2 separate regions of the Homo sapiens genome follow, and region 2 is linked to region 1. Evidence: promoter capture Hi-C in human tissues and cell types (Jung and others, 2019). All regions are on one chromosome and are shown on one strand. The core of a region is centred on a gene start or on the middle of the fragment in contact, and the rest is flanking DNA. Distances in the headings are between cores, read along the strand shown. Region 1 holds the start of OASL (2'-5'-oligoadenylate synthetase like). Region 2 overlaps MLEC (malectin).

The links. The method cuts DNA at HindIII sites, captures the fragments that hold promoters and counts their contacts. A contact is called where the count stands out against the background at its distance.
Region 2: a contact is called between a fragment that was not itself captured here and the fragment with the promoter of OASL in region 1, in 1 of the 25 tissues and cell types used here (IMR-90 fibroblasts).

Annotation. Positions count from the first base shown.
Region 1 is chr12:121,036,729-121,043,224 of GRCh38, forward strand. It overlaps OASL (2'-5'-oligoadenylate synthetase like), which reads right to left and starts at 2,518. Exons shown (of 6, transcript NM_003733.4): 1 at 2,046-2,518. The coding sequence starts at 2,243. RefSeq lists enhancers at 1,682-2,183, 2,184-2,683, 2,263-2,682. The HindIII fragment of the contact is 11,669 bases long and covers 1-2,590 here.
Region 2 is chr12:120,694,691-120,700,752 of GRCh38, forward strand. It overlaps MLEC (malectin), which reads left to right. Exons shown (of 5, transcript NM_014730.4): 3 at 134-310; 4 at 405-462; 5 at 1,626-6,062. The coding sequence ends at 1,855. Among named protein-coding and RNA genes, the nearest start is that of MLEC, 11 kb to the left of the region's middle. The HindIII fragment of the contact is 3,246 bases long and covers 1,041-4,286 here.

The DNA.
Region 1 (6,496 bases), core at 1,268-3,767:
CTCAAGTTTGTTGGGGAGGGGGTGGTCTAGGAGGGTCTGCCAGAGTCAGACTTGAGTCCCAGGCCCAGAAGAAAGCTTGGCAAGAATTATAATGATGCTTCTGTTTCTGAGCATTTATCGTGCATGAATCATTCAGCCTGCATTGCACCACTGGCTTGGTGAGGGAGAGATGATGATGATGCCCCAATCACAGATGAAAAGAATGTGGGTTTGAGAAAGAAGAGTGGGAAGGTCAAAACCACACAGCTGGTAAAGGAAGAAGCGAAGAGTCTGTCTAATATCAAAATTTGTGGTTTCTCACTTATAAATTGTATGGCCTCAGGCTTCATATGCTGGGGATAGGTGCAAAGAACGGATAGGGGCCCAGGGCTTCTAGATCCCTCTGTGAGTTGGTTGCCCCTAGAGAGAGAACTTGAGCACTGGGCTGGGAGTCAGGGGTCCTAATTCTAGTCTTGCCTTTGCCACCAACTCGCTGTGTGACCTTGGGGTATCTCTCACCCTCTCTGTGCCTCGGTTTACTTAATTTTTTAAGTGAGTCATTGGTGAGACTGTCTGATTCTCCAAAGTCTTTCTAGCTCCGACCCTCTTGAATTTTGATCTTAGCTAGCACAGGCGGTGGCATGAAACAGCTGGAGGAAGGGCTTGGGGGAAAATCTCAGTGAGGGGGGCTTGGGTCCCTTGAGTCAAGTTCAAATCCCAGCTTCAACACTGTGTGACCTTGGGCAAGTCACCTCACCTCTCTGAGCCTCCATTAAAAAATCATTTTAGGCCGAGTGCAGTGGCTCACTGTAATCCCAGCACTTTGGGAGGCCGAGGAGGGCAGATCATGAGGTCAGGAGATCGAGACCATCCTAGCCAACACGGTGAAACCCTGTCTCTACTAAAATACAAAAAATTAGCCGGGCGTGGTGGTGGGCGCTGTCGTCCCAGCTACTTGGGAGGCTGAGGCAGGGGAATTGCTTGAACCTGGGAGGCAGAGGTTGCAGTGAGCTGAGATCGTGCCACTGCACTCCAGCCTGGTGACAGAGCAAGACTCTGTCTCAAAAAAAAAAAAACAAAAACAAAAATCATTTTATTGGCCGGCCAGACATGGTGGCTCACACCTGTAATCCCAGCACTTTGGGAGGCCAAGGTGGGCATATTCTTGATCCCAGGAGTTCGAGACCAGCATGGGCAACATTGGTGAAACCCTATCTCTACAAAAAATACAAAAATTAGCTGAGCATGGTGGTGCATGCCTGTAATCCCAAGCTATTTAGGAGGCTGAGGATCACCTGAGCTCAGGGAGATTGAGGCTACAGTGAGTGGTGATTGTGCCACTGCACTCCAGCCTGGGTGACAGAGCGAGACCCTGTCTCTAAAAAAAAAAAAAGTCATTTTATTATCAAAAAGTTAAAACACATAGAAAAATAGATGATACAACTAACACTCATATACCCAACTAGTTGATTCAACAAGTCTAAATTCCTGGCTACATGTGCTTAATCTAAGCCACGTTAAAGTAAATTATAGGCACCAAGGAACTTTGTCCCTAAAATACTTCAGTGTTCGTGTCCAAACAAAAGACAACCTTCTGATAACCACAAAACTACTGTTACACCTAACAAAATCAACAATGATTTCCCATATCAGATATATGTACTATCTGATATCTAGGCCAGTTGTCCCCAAACTATATTTTACAGATGGTTCATTCACACTAGGATCCAACCAAGGACCTCGCATTGTATTGGTTCTGAGCCTCCATTTGCTAATCTGTAAACTGGGCAAAGAATAGTACCTATCTCACAGAGTGCAAGAATTAGAGATAGTGTATGTTAAGAGGTTAGTCCAGTGAGCCCCCAAATGTGAGCTATTATTACTAGACTCATTCTACTCAAGGCAGTGGTGCAGTGGGGTGTAGACAGCTAGGTGGGATGGGGTATTCTGAGATGTCATCAGCATGGGCTAGGGATAAGGAGGACAGGGGTCCCCAGCATCCCCAGGGACGTGGACTCTGATACTGGGTTTTGTCTTGCGTGGGGGCTGGAGGAGCCCAGTCTTACCTTGACTACCTTCAGCACCCGCACATCCTGGTCCAGCCCACGCTTCCCCTGGAAATGCTCCTGCCTCAGAAACTCCTCCACGGTCCGCACAGCGTCTAGCACCTCTTCCTTCCACTCCCGGTGGGGCTGCAGCCACTGAGCCACGAAGGAGTCCAGCCTGGAGGCTGGTGTGCTATACAGTTCCTGCATCAGTGCCATCTCTGTCCCGAGAGTACCGCTGCTGGGCAGATATATAGCCAGGCTCCTACCCAGCTCCCTGGCACACACCTCCTTTTTTAAGGTAGCTCCTCCTCAGCTGCCCTCCAGTGCTCTGTGGGAGGAGGGACCCTAGCAGAGAGGAAACCAGGTGTGACGGGCTGACTCCAGGTCCCCCTTCTTGGAGACACCCTTGCTGCAGTAGGGGCACAGGAGGACTCTGGGCTGAGGCTGGAATATCTGGGGCCACCTTAACAGGCTGGCCGTCTAGTCAATCTGTCATCAGTTTCGATTCTCAACTTTTAGAGTTCTCCTTTATGACGTTGGGAAACTGAAGTTGGATAGTGTTTGACCCCAAAGGAGGCAACTTGCCCAGTAGGTTGGGGTTGGATAGTTGTTAGTCAATTCAACTGCTTACATCTGTCTAAGGAAATTGAGGCTTGGGAACGGAAGGGACTCACTAGTGTTCAGGTGGTGGAGTGAGAATCTGGAGCCCAAGAGAACAGACTGGGAATTCTAGTCTACCTGTGCCAGACTCTAACCTCTTTGACCCTCACTATTCATAGAGTGGGTTTTTTTGTTTTTTTGTTTTTTTTTTTTTTTGGCCGGGTCTTGCTCTGTTGCCCAGGCTGGAGTGCAGTGGTGCAATCTCAGCTCACTACAACCTCTGCCTCACGGGTTCAAGCGATTCTCCTGCCTCAGCCTCCCTAGTAGCTGGGACTACAGACATGTGCCACCACGCCCGGCTAATTTTTTTTTTGTATTTTTAGTAGAGACGGGGGTCTCACCATTTTGGTCAGGCTGGTCTCAAACTCCTGACCTCAAATGATCCGCCCACCTCGGCCTCCCACAGTGCTAGGATTACAGCGTGAGCCACCGCGCCCGGCCCATAGAGTGGGTTTAACAGGTATTATGATTCACGCACTGAACCAAGAAGTTCATGCATTGAGCCAAGAAGACAAAATAAGATGAGGTTCCTGTTCCAAGGGGACTCCCAGAACGGTGGAGGAGACACAGAAAAAAGAGACTGCAAAAGTCCAGTGCGATGAGTTAAGTAGGAAAAAAGCATGAAAACATGAAGCCGGCAGATGAGTTTCATTTGGTGTTAGCAGACACCTGCTTGAGAGGAATCTTAAAGACTGGGGATCCGGGCTGGGCATGGTGGCTCATGCTTGTAGTCCCAGCACTTTGGGAGGCCAAGGTGAGAGGATCACTTGAGGCCAGGAGTTCAAGACCAGCCTGGGCAACATAGCTGGACACCTGCAACTTCCCAAACTCTGAATAATATTAAGTGCTCCAGGGCTTAGTCCTGGGTCCTTTTCTCTTCTTGTTCTAGACTTACTCCCTTGGTGATTTCAGCCAGCGTTTAAATGTTTTTACTCTGGCAACTTCCACATTTTAATTTTATTTTTATTTATTTGTTTATTTTTGAGATGGAGTCTCACTGTCTCGCCCAGGCTGGAGTTCAGTGACACAATCTCGGCTCACTGCAACCTCTGCCTCCCAGGTTCAGGCGATTCTTGTGCCTCAGCCTCCCAAGGAGCTGGGATTACAGGAGCCCGCCACCGCGCCTGGCTAACTTTTTGTATTTTTAGTAGGGACAGTGTTTCACCATGTTGCCCAGGCTGGTCTTGAACTCCTGATCTGCCCTCCTCGGCCTCCCAAAGTGCTGGGATTACAGGCGTGAGCCACCATACCCAGTGACTCCCACATTTGTATCTTAAATCCATACCTCTTCCCTGAAATCCAGACTCATGTATCCAACTCCCCACTCCACATTGGCTTTGAATTCCGGTCTGCCCTTTGCCACACTTGTAACTTCTCTGCTTCTGTGGTGAGGATGATTGCAAGGGCAAGAACAGATGTAGGGAGATGGTCAGGACACTGCACAGTGGTGCAGGTGAGAGGCAGTGGTGGCCTGGAGTTTAAAACTCCAGTTTTTGTTTTAAAAACAAAAAGTTTTTTAAAAAATAGCTAGGTGTGGTGGTGTCCACCTGTAGCCCCAGCTACTTGGGAGGCTGAGGTGGGAGGACCACTTGAGTCTAGGAGTTTCAGGCTGCAGTGAACTATCATGGTGCCACTGCACTCCAGCCTGGGTGACAGCATGAGACTCTGTCTCCAAATAAAAAATAAAAAAGACTGGCACTCCAGCCAGGAGGATGAGGGTACAGCATAGAGGCTGAGAAGTATAAATAATGCTAGGATATGCCAGGGACTCAAGTGTGCTGTGTGCCTTGGGATGAAAGGGTGAGCAGGGGAGAGGTTAGAAATGTACCTGGACAGGTGGGCAGGATTGAATCTTGGAGTGCTATTCACTCATTCGTTCACTCATTCAACAGATACTTACTGGGCACCTACTCTGTGCCAGGCAGGTGCTGTGGATACAACAGTGAACAAACAGTAGTGAAAAATCCCTACCTGCAGATAGTTTTCTTTCTGGTAGTGGAGACAAACAACAAATAGGATAAATAGGTAAAATTATAGTAAAGAAGACGGTGATAAGTGCTAAGCAGAAAAACAAAGCAAGAGAAGGGATTAAGAGGTTGTGTGTGTGTGTGTGTGTGTGTGTGTGTGTGTGTGTGTGTGTGTTGGGGGCATGTATTTAGGTTTCAGTCTTACATAAGGTGATTAGGGAAGGCCTCCCTGAAAAGGAGACATCTGAGCAAAGACATAAGAAGGTGAAGAGTTTGGGAGGCCAAGACGGGTGGATCACAAGGTCAGGAGATCGAGACCATCCTGGTTAATACGGTGAAACCCCATCTCTACTAAAAGTACAAAAAATTAGCCGGGCGTGGTGGCAGGCACCTGTAGTCCCAGCTATTCGGGACGCTGAGGCAGGAGAATGGCGTGAACCCAGGAGGCAAAGCTTGCAGTGAGCCAAGATTGCACCACTGAACTCCAGCGAGACTCCGTCTCAAAAAAAAAAAAAAAAAAGAAGGTAGAGTGAGCCACGTGTGTAACAGAAGGAAGAAGATTCTTCATGGCAGAAGGAGTGGAAAGTACGAGGACCCTGTGGTGGTACTGCCCGGTGGCAAGTATAAGGAACATCAGTGTGCCTGGAACGGAGTGATCAAGAGCAGAGAGTGGAAGGGAATGCGGTTTAAGTAGTAAAGGGTGGCAAGGCAAATAGATACAGGATCCTTTTTTTTTTTTTTTTTGAGATGGAGTTTCACAATTGTTGCCCAGGCTAGAGTGCAATGGCACAATCTCGGCTCACTGCAACCTCCACCTCCCAGGTTCAAGCGATTCTCCTGCCTCAGCCTCCTGAGCAGCTGGGATTCAAGGTGCCCACCGCCACACCTAGCTGATTTTTGTACTTTTAGTAGAGACGGTGTTTCACCATGTTGGCCAGGCTGGTCTCTAACTCCTGACCTCAGGCGATCCACCCGCCTCGGCCTCCCAAAGTGCTGGGATTACAGGCGTGAGCCACCGCACCCAGCCAGGATATAAGATCTTTTTAAAAAGATTTATTCCATAAACAAGGAGCAGGAGTGGATAGGATCTTGAAGACGACTGTTAGGAGTTGGCTTTACTCTGAATGAAATGGGGAACCACTGGGGAGCATTTTTTGTTGTTCTGTAGGAGTCTGACACCATACATTGGAGAGTTTTGAGTGGAGGAGTGACACGGTCTTTCATTTTAATGGAATTAATCACATTGGCTGCTGGGAGGAAATTAAATTAGAAGCAGAGGGTGGAGTGGAGGTGAAAGTGGAGGCAGAAGTATGGTTAGGAGGCTACTGCAACAGTCCAGGCAAGAGGTCAGTTGACTTGGATCAGAGTGGTAGCAGTGAAATAGTATGTTTTAATTTTTCTGATTTTGGAACATTTCAAACAAAGTGGAATAATACAATGAACCTCCATGTACCATCACCAGTTTCAACAATGATCAACTTATAGACAGTCTGGTTTCAATTCTACCCCCATCCCTAGATTCCCTACTGTGTTATTTGGAAGTGAATCTGGACATCATGTCATTCCGCTGGATATATTTTGACTCCAAGGCTGACAGGTCTTGCTAATGGGTAGAGTATGATGAGAGAGAAAGATCAGAGTCAAGGTCTAAGTCCGGGGCTTTTGGCCTTAGCAACAGAAAGGTTGAACTGCCCTTAACTGAGGTGGGATAGGCTGGGCATGGAGATGAGGAAGGAACTCAGTTTTGGAACTGAAGTTTGGGGTGTCTGTCAGAGACCCAGGTGGAGATATGTGGTGGGGAGTTGGATATGCGAGTCTGTATTACAGGGAGGAGGTCTGGAC
Region 2 (6,062 bases), core at 1,414-3,913, 340 kb before region 1:
CCCTGGATATCCAGACCCATCATTTCTTAAATTATTTTTGAACTTCAAGCCCAAACACGTGCATGATGTCCAACTGCTTGAAAGGATGTAAAGCTGATGGTTTTGACATTGTTTTCTTTTCTTATCCTGGAAGGTATTTGATGTACGATTGAATGGCCACGTCGTGGTGAAGGACTTGGATATCTTTGATCGTGTTGGGCATAGCACAGCTCACGATGAAATTATACCTATGAGCATCAGAAAGGGGAAGCTGAGTGTCCAGGGGGAGGTGTCCACCTTCACAGGGAAACTCTACATTGAGTTTGTCAAGGTAATTCCCCTATTCTGCCCATTGCTGAAGAGAGTGGGTACAGGGGAAGTTGTTTGCTGCTGTGTGGGGTTGACCACTGTTTCCCTTTTCCTAGGGGTACTATGACAATCCCAAGGTCTGTGCACTCTACATCATGGCTGGGACAGTGGATGGTAGGTTGTGTTCTGACCTGCTTTTTTGACTTGAGTGGAGGGATATGGTTGAGGAAGCCCTTGGGAGGTAATTGAGCTGATGACTATTTTGGAAACACTTAAAGCTAAATTGTAGGGGATTCAGAATCAGTTGGATAAGGATGAAGCATAACATGGTACTAGCCACAAGCTTTGGAGTCAGGTCTATGTATATCTTGTTGCTGCCATTTAATCAGATGTTTGTCTTGGATGGATGCTTTTAATTTCCCTATAAATTGGGATTAATAATGGTACCTATTGGTGTACCCTGACCTTTGTAGTCATTTGGGATCACCTAAAACTTGTCCTTATTCTGTTTGTTTGACATCTCTTTCCTAGGGGAAAAAAAGGTAAAAGGAGGAGTCCTGTAGGCTTTTGGTATGCTCTGAAAGATTCCAGCATTGCTGGACTGCACTGGGACAAAACTTCACTTATTTATGTCTCCTTATCCTTGGGATCAAGTCTTAGAGTATATTTCTTTCTCAGGGTTTAGATTCTCCTGGCTGCCAGCATCTCAGGCTGATTTTTGCAGAGAAAGCTGCGTCTTTGTGACATTTCTCCCCCATTCCACCTCTGTACCTTTCCCCAACTCAATCTTGAATGCACTGAGGATTTCATCCTGTTGTCTTGATGTCCCCCAAATGCTGATATTATGACATCTAGGAGGATGAATGTCTTACCACCAAACAGACCTGTGTTCAAGTCCCTGAGGAGGAGGCAGGACAGAGGGATAGTGTGTGCTGGGAACCCAGAACTCTCTGGGTCAACGTTTCTTCAGTTGTTGTGTGAATCAAAAGGGAATGTGGGCTTGTGGGAGGAGGAGGGATTTGAAAAGGCTAAAGTTTAGGCATTGGATCATTGTCCCTGTCCAGTCTGGTTATCTTGGGGCTCTGTAAAAGTAGAACAGGAAGGTAAGATAGTGAACCTCCCTATGAGCACGGCTTTTTCTACTTTCTAGTTAAATCTAAAGCTTTTGCAGCACTCTGCTGTTCTGTAGACCAGAGGCTATTTCTGCTACTTCTGGTCTTTTCTCTGGACCCGGGTTCAATCACAGCAATCTCTTTATTGTGGCTTATTTGCTGCTTTTAAGGGTCTCTCTTACTTAAATGCTGTGGGTCTTAACAGTGTTTTCTTCCTTGTGTTAGATGTACCAAAGCTTCAGCCTCATCCGGGATTGGAGAAGAAAGAAGAGGAAGAAGAAGAAGAAGAATATGATGAAGGGTCTAATCTCAAAAAACAGACCAATAAGAACCGGGTGCAGTCAGGCCCCCGCACACCCAACCCCTATGCCTCGGACAACAGCAGCCTCATGTTTCCCATCCTGGTGGCCTTCGGAGTCTTCATTCCAACCCTCTTCTGCCTCTGCCGGTTGTGAGAACAAATGACTATCCTGAACAGGGTGGAGGGGTGTGGGAAAGAAACCAGCCATATTGGTTTTGGTTTCTGTATTTTTCACAATGATTAATGAACAAAAACAAAGAGAAAAAAACACACATCAATTAAAGGAGACAAAAAGAGGCAGAGCGAGTAGAGAGCAGCCCTCATTCACCACCTGGTCCCAGACGTGCTTCAGTCCTCGTCCTCTCTTTGTGGCTGGCTCCCAGCCTTCTCTTTCCTCTTGAGGATACTTAGGGTAAACTGGATCCTTCCTGCTCAAGGATCCTCATTTGTATACCTAGTGGAAAGGACTCTGAACTCAGAGGAGTCACTGTTCCTTTTTTTAGGTTAGAAATTAACAGCAGGGAAATGCCATCTTATTACCTGAGACGACCAGCACTGGGAGTTAGGTACGGTCTGAAGTTATGTCTAGATAAGACTTCAGACGTCCTGGGATTGAAAGAATGTGTGTGAAGGGGTAGAATTTGTGCGGTAAAGACTTAAAAAAAAAAGTAGGGAGATTAAAAAAAAAGAAAGAAAATGCTTCCTTATCTGGAAGCCTTTCTGGATTAATCCAGTGATGGTCCCACCTTTAGTGTTTGAGCTTTGTCATTGCTTGTCTCCCTGGCATGTGCCAGTTATAGACTGTCCAGCATCCAAGACGTTTCGGTTATGTCGGGTCCTCAGATCGCCTCTGACTTGTTACCACAACAAATCATTTTGATTTCAGTGCCTGTTGGGGACTTGATTTCTTCTCAGTTTTGTTTGTTTGTTTGTTTCCTTAATCTGGCTCATTTGAAATTTCTTCTCCCTCTCAACCATCCCACTAAGTTATAGCCAAGAAGGGAAGGAGACACGGGGATTTGGGGTTCTCTGCTTGAATGTCTTCTCCTTTACCACCTCACCTTGTTGGTACCTCCCTCCCTGGATCTCTGAGCCAGCAGCCAGGAGGACCTGACCCAGCAGTTCTTTACTGGCCCCTTTGTAGGGCCTTGCTGCCAGGGGGCAGGGATGCTTTCCAGCCTGCAGCAACAGAACACTTGACCTTAAAAGTCTCTTCTGGTCTTTGGATTAGAAAAGGCTTATGTTAGCATAGCTTAAGAGCAACCTCAGAGATTTGAGCCCTACTAAGTGACTGACCACTGTTTAGAGTGTCTGGTATCTGATGTTCATTTATTCCCATGTTCTTGTGTGTCACAGTTCAGCCAGTTTTGGTTTATGCCTAGAGCTACTTCAAGGAACTAGACTAATTAGCTATATAGGCCCAGCGATGCTTCTTATTGATCTTAATAGTATGCCCCTCCTTCCCCTGTCCTTTCATTTCTCTATCCAAGTAGCAGTCAGGTTCTTGGTGTGATGGGACTGAAAGAATTCCAGTCAGCCAGAGCCTTGGCAGCTCTGAAGCTAACCTTAGCATCTAAGTGTCGATCTTGAATTCCCTGAAAAAATTTCTATAGGAAATGAAGCTTCCCTGGTCCCCTCCTTTCTGGCCATTGTCATCCATTTCCCAGTTAGGGCAACAATGAAGGAGGACCCAGCCAAGCTAGAAGGAATTTTGTGGATGGGAGACAGCAGGATTAGCTTCAGCTTGGGCTGGAGCAGTCAATATAGGATCTCAGGCCAGGCCCGCTTTTCTAGAATGTGTTTAATTTTGAGTTTGCTTTATTAGATATGTTTTTTAAGAGCTCTGTATATTTGAACTGCTCCTTATGTGACAAAATAGGTAGCTCTTGGGCTCATGTCCTGGGTTTTGGCTCTTTAATGATTACTCCAGGCCAGCATTTAGTCGTTTGAGAATTGTAGCCTGTTGTTTTCGCTGTGACTTGGGTCTCAGTGCTAGGGTATTGAGTCAGGCAGCTGGAGGGTTGTGGCCCGAGGCTGCAGTCAGAGGTATACTTCCCATAGTGCTTCACACAGCTCCCCTGCTTCTAAAGGATAAGGTACTGTAGCCTTGGTCCTGGGGACCACCTGCCTGGGGCAGTGGACATCCTAACTAAACAGGCTTCTGGCAGTAGCTTTGGTTCCTATCCCATCGAAATTCCCCAAAGCCCTGGGCCACTGCCATTGGGTTAGTCAAGATGAAGGAGGAGGACTGGCTGCCTCCATTTTGCCTTGTTTGTTAGTTTGCCTGGGTCTGTCTGAGGAAGGAGGGGGTCCCGCCTTCCACCTCAACACATCCCTTCAGTGACTCAGAGTCTCAGAAGGAAACCCTGACTCCTGGGGCCATTTCCTAATGGTACTGTAAGCCAAGCAGCTTTGCTTCTGCCTCTGTTTCCAAGCCCACCCTTTTCCCCTGAGCTCAGGGTTAGGGATGGGCGCTTTCCTCTCTGGTTGTGAACGAAAGGAAGGAACATCTTTCTATGGCTAACAAAAACTAAAGGGGAAGTGAGGAAACAGGAAGAAGTATGGTGGGGGCTGGGGTAGACTCCCCTGGAGCCAAGCCTATCCAGCTAACAAGAGCTCCCTGGGGCTGGTCACAGCTGGCTCATGATGCTGAACTTGAAAGTTTTTTTGTTTTTGTTTTTGTTTTGTGGCTCCTCCAAGATATAGGTACATGAAGTTTAGGTTAAAGGGGTGGGATTCTTTATTTTTATTTTTGTATTGTATGTGTCAAGAATTACTCTGTTGTTCACCTTTTGCTTTTTGCACTGTTTGTTCTCTTATCTGTATTTTGAGCTTAGTGCTAGGACTGAGAGGCTGCACCATAGGGAATGTATGGGAGATGGTGAGGGGTGCCAGTGAGGGGTGCGTGGAGGAGAGGCCTGGGCTCCTCTACTGGATCTACACTCTGTCCCAGGTTTTTAGATCCCACTGAGCCCAGCTGACTGAAAACAAGGACAGTCAGGGTGAAACTTCTTTTGCCAGAAGTGTGGCCTGAGTTGAATTTCTGGGAGGATGACGCAGATGTCTGCTGCAGAGCTGGGCTGAGAGTTCTGCAGTCTAGCTCTGACTTAGGTCAGGGGCCTGTTGGTCTCTCATTGGACGTTTTTGGGTCTCACTCATGCTTACTGAAACATTGTGCCAAGAAACTCTGTGGGATTTGTGTCCCTTAAACCAGACTCACTTTTCTGAAAAATCTCCATTGTTGAGGAGAGGCTGCTCAATCGACACCCCGAGTTCTCATGACTGGGAAGATAGTTTTCTTCAGGTGTCAATGGCGTTAGACTCCCAGGAAGACTAGCCCTGCCCACAGGGCCACCTGTTGGTTTGAGAGCGTGTTCGTGTTCTCTTGCCCTCCCTGCCTAAGAGCTACTGGGATCACGTTAGCGGGCATTTAGGCTTTGATGAGAGGGCACAGTTTGAGTTAGGTTTACCTCCCCCTTTCTGTGCCTGGGAACTGTTTGGTCCAGCTTTAGAACTGTGGTTTTGACTTCCTTATCTCTTGGGAGAAGCTTCTGTTTTAAGGAATTTCTCTTCCTTCTTCTCCTGCCTCTAGCCTCTCCTGGAAAGGCCTGGATATGGTTTCTAAAATCTCAGCTGAGAACTTCAGAAAACAGCAGCAGTATTTTCCTTTTCCTAGTGCTAAAATCCCTTTCCCTAGAAATTGGCTCACCTTGGGAAACCCAGGGAAAGAATCAGCAGGTTCTCTGCCCTCCCTAGGGGTTGGGGAAGGACCCACCCCGGTCAGCACAGTGCCTTTTCCTCTCCTGCTCTGAGCCAGGGTGGGGCATTCCCTCTAGATTCAGGTTTGGGCAGGGGTCCTATAGTCCCTGCCATGGGGCTGCTTCCCTGTCCCTTCCCTCCCCTTTGCTGGCCTACTCTGGCATAATTCAAGTGTCTTCTTGCCTTGGGGATCCTTAGTGGCATCAAATGGCAACATGGAATATTGTCCTCCATGCCCCTCCAGAAGGACCTAGGAGAGTAGGTGAGCTTTCCAAAGTGAGAGACGAATCTTTCTTTCTTTTTTTTTTTAAAGGGCAGGATGGGTATGCTTTGGGCTTTCTCCTTCTGTGGCCCCGGAGGAAGGAGAGACTGAGGCAAGGCAAAGTGATAGTACACGGAAGCAGAACCGGAAACACCCAGGAACTGTTCAGAAATCTCAGAAGAAATCTGCTTCTCTTCGATGGAAAGATATAATTAACGATCAAAGAGCTCTAAGAAAATTGCAAAGAAGCCTTAATGTTCAAGCTTTAGAAAGATCAGAGCAATTTTTCTCTTTCAGTCCAAACTAAGACTCTCTGTATTTAAATCTCTCTGGGGCAAGA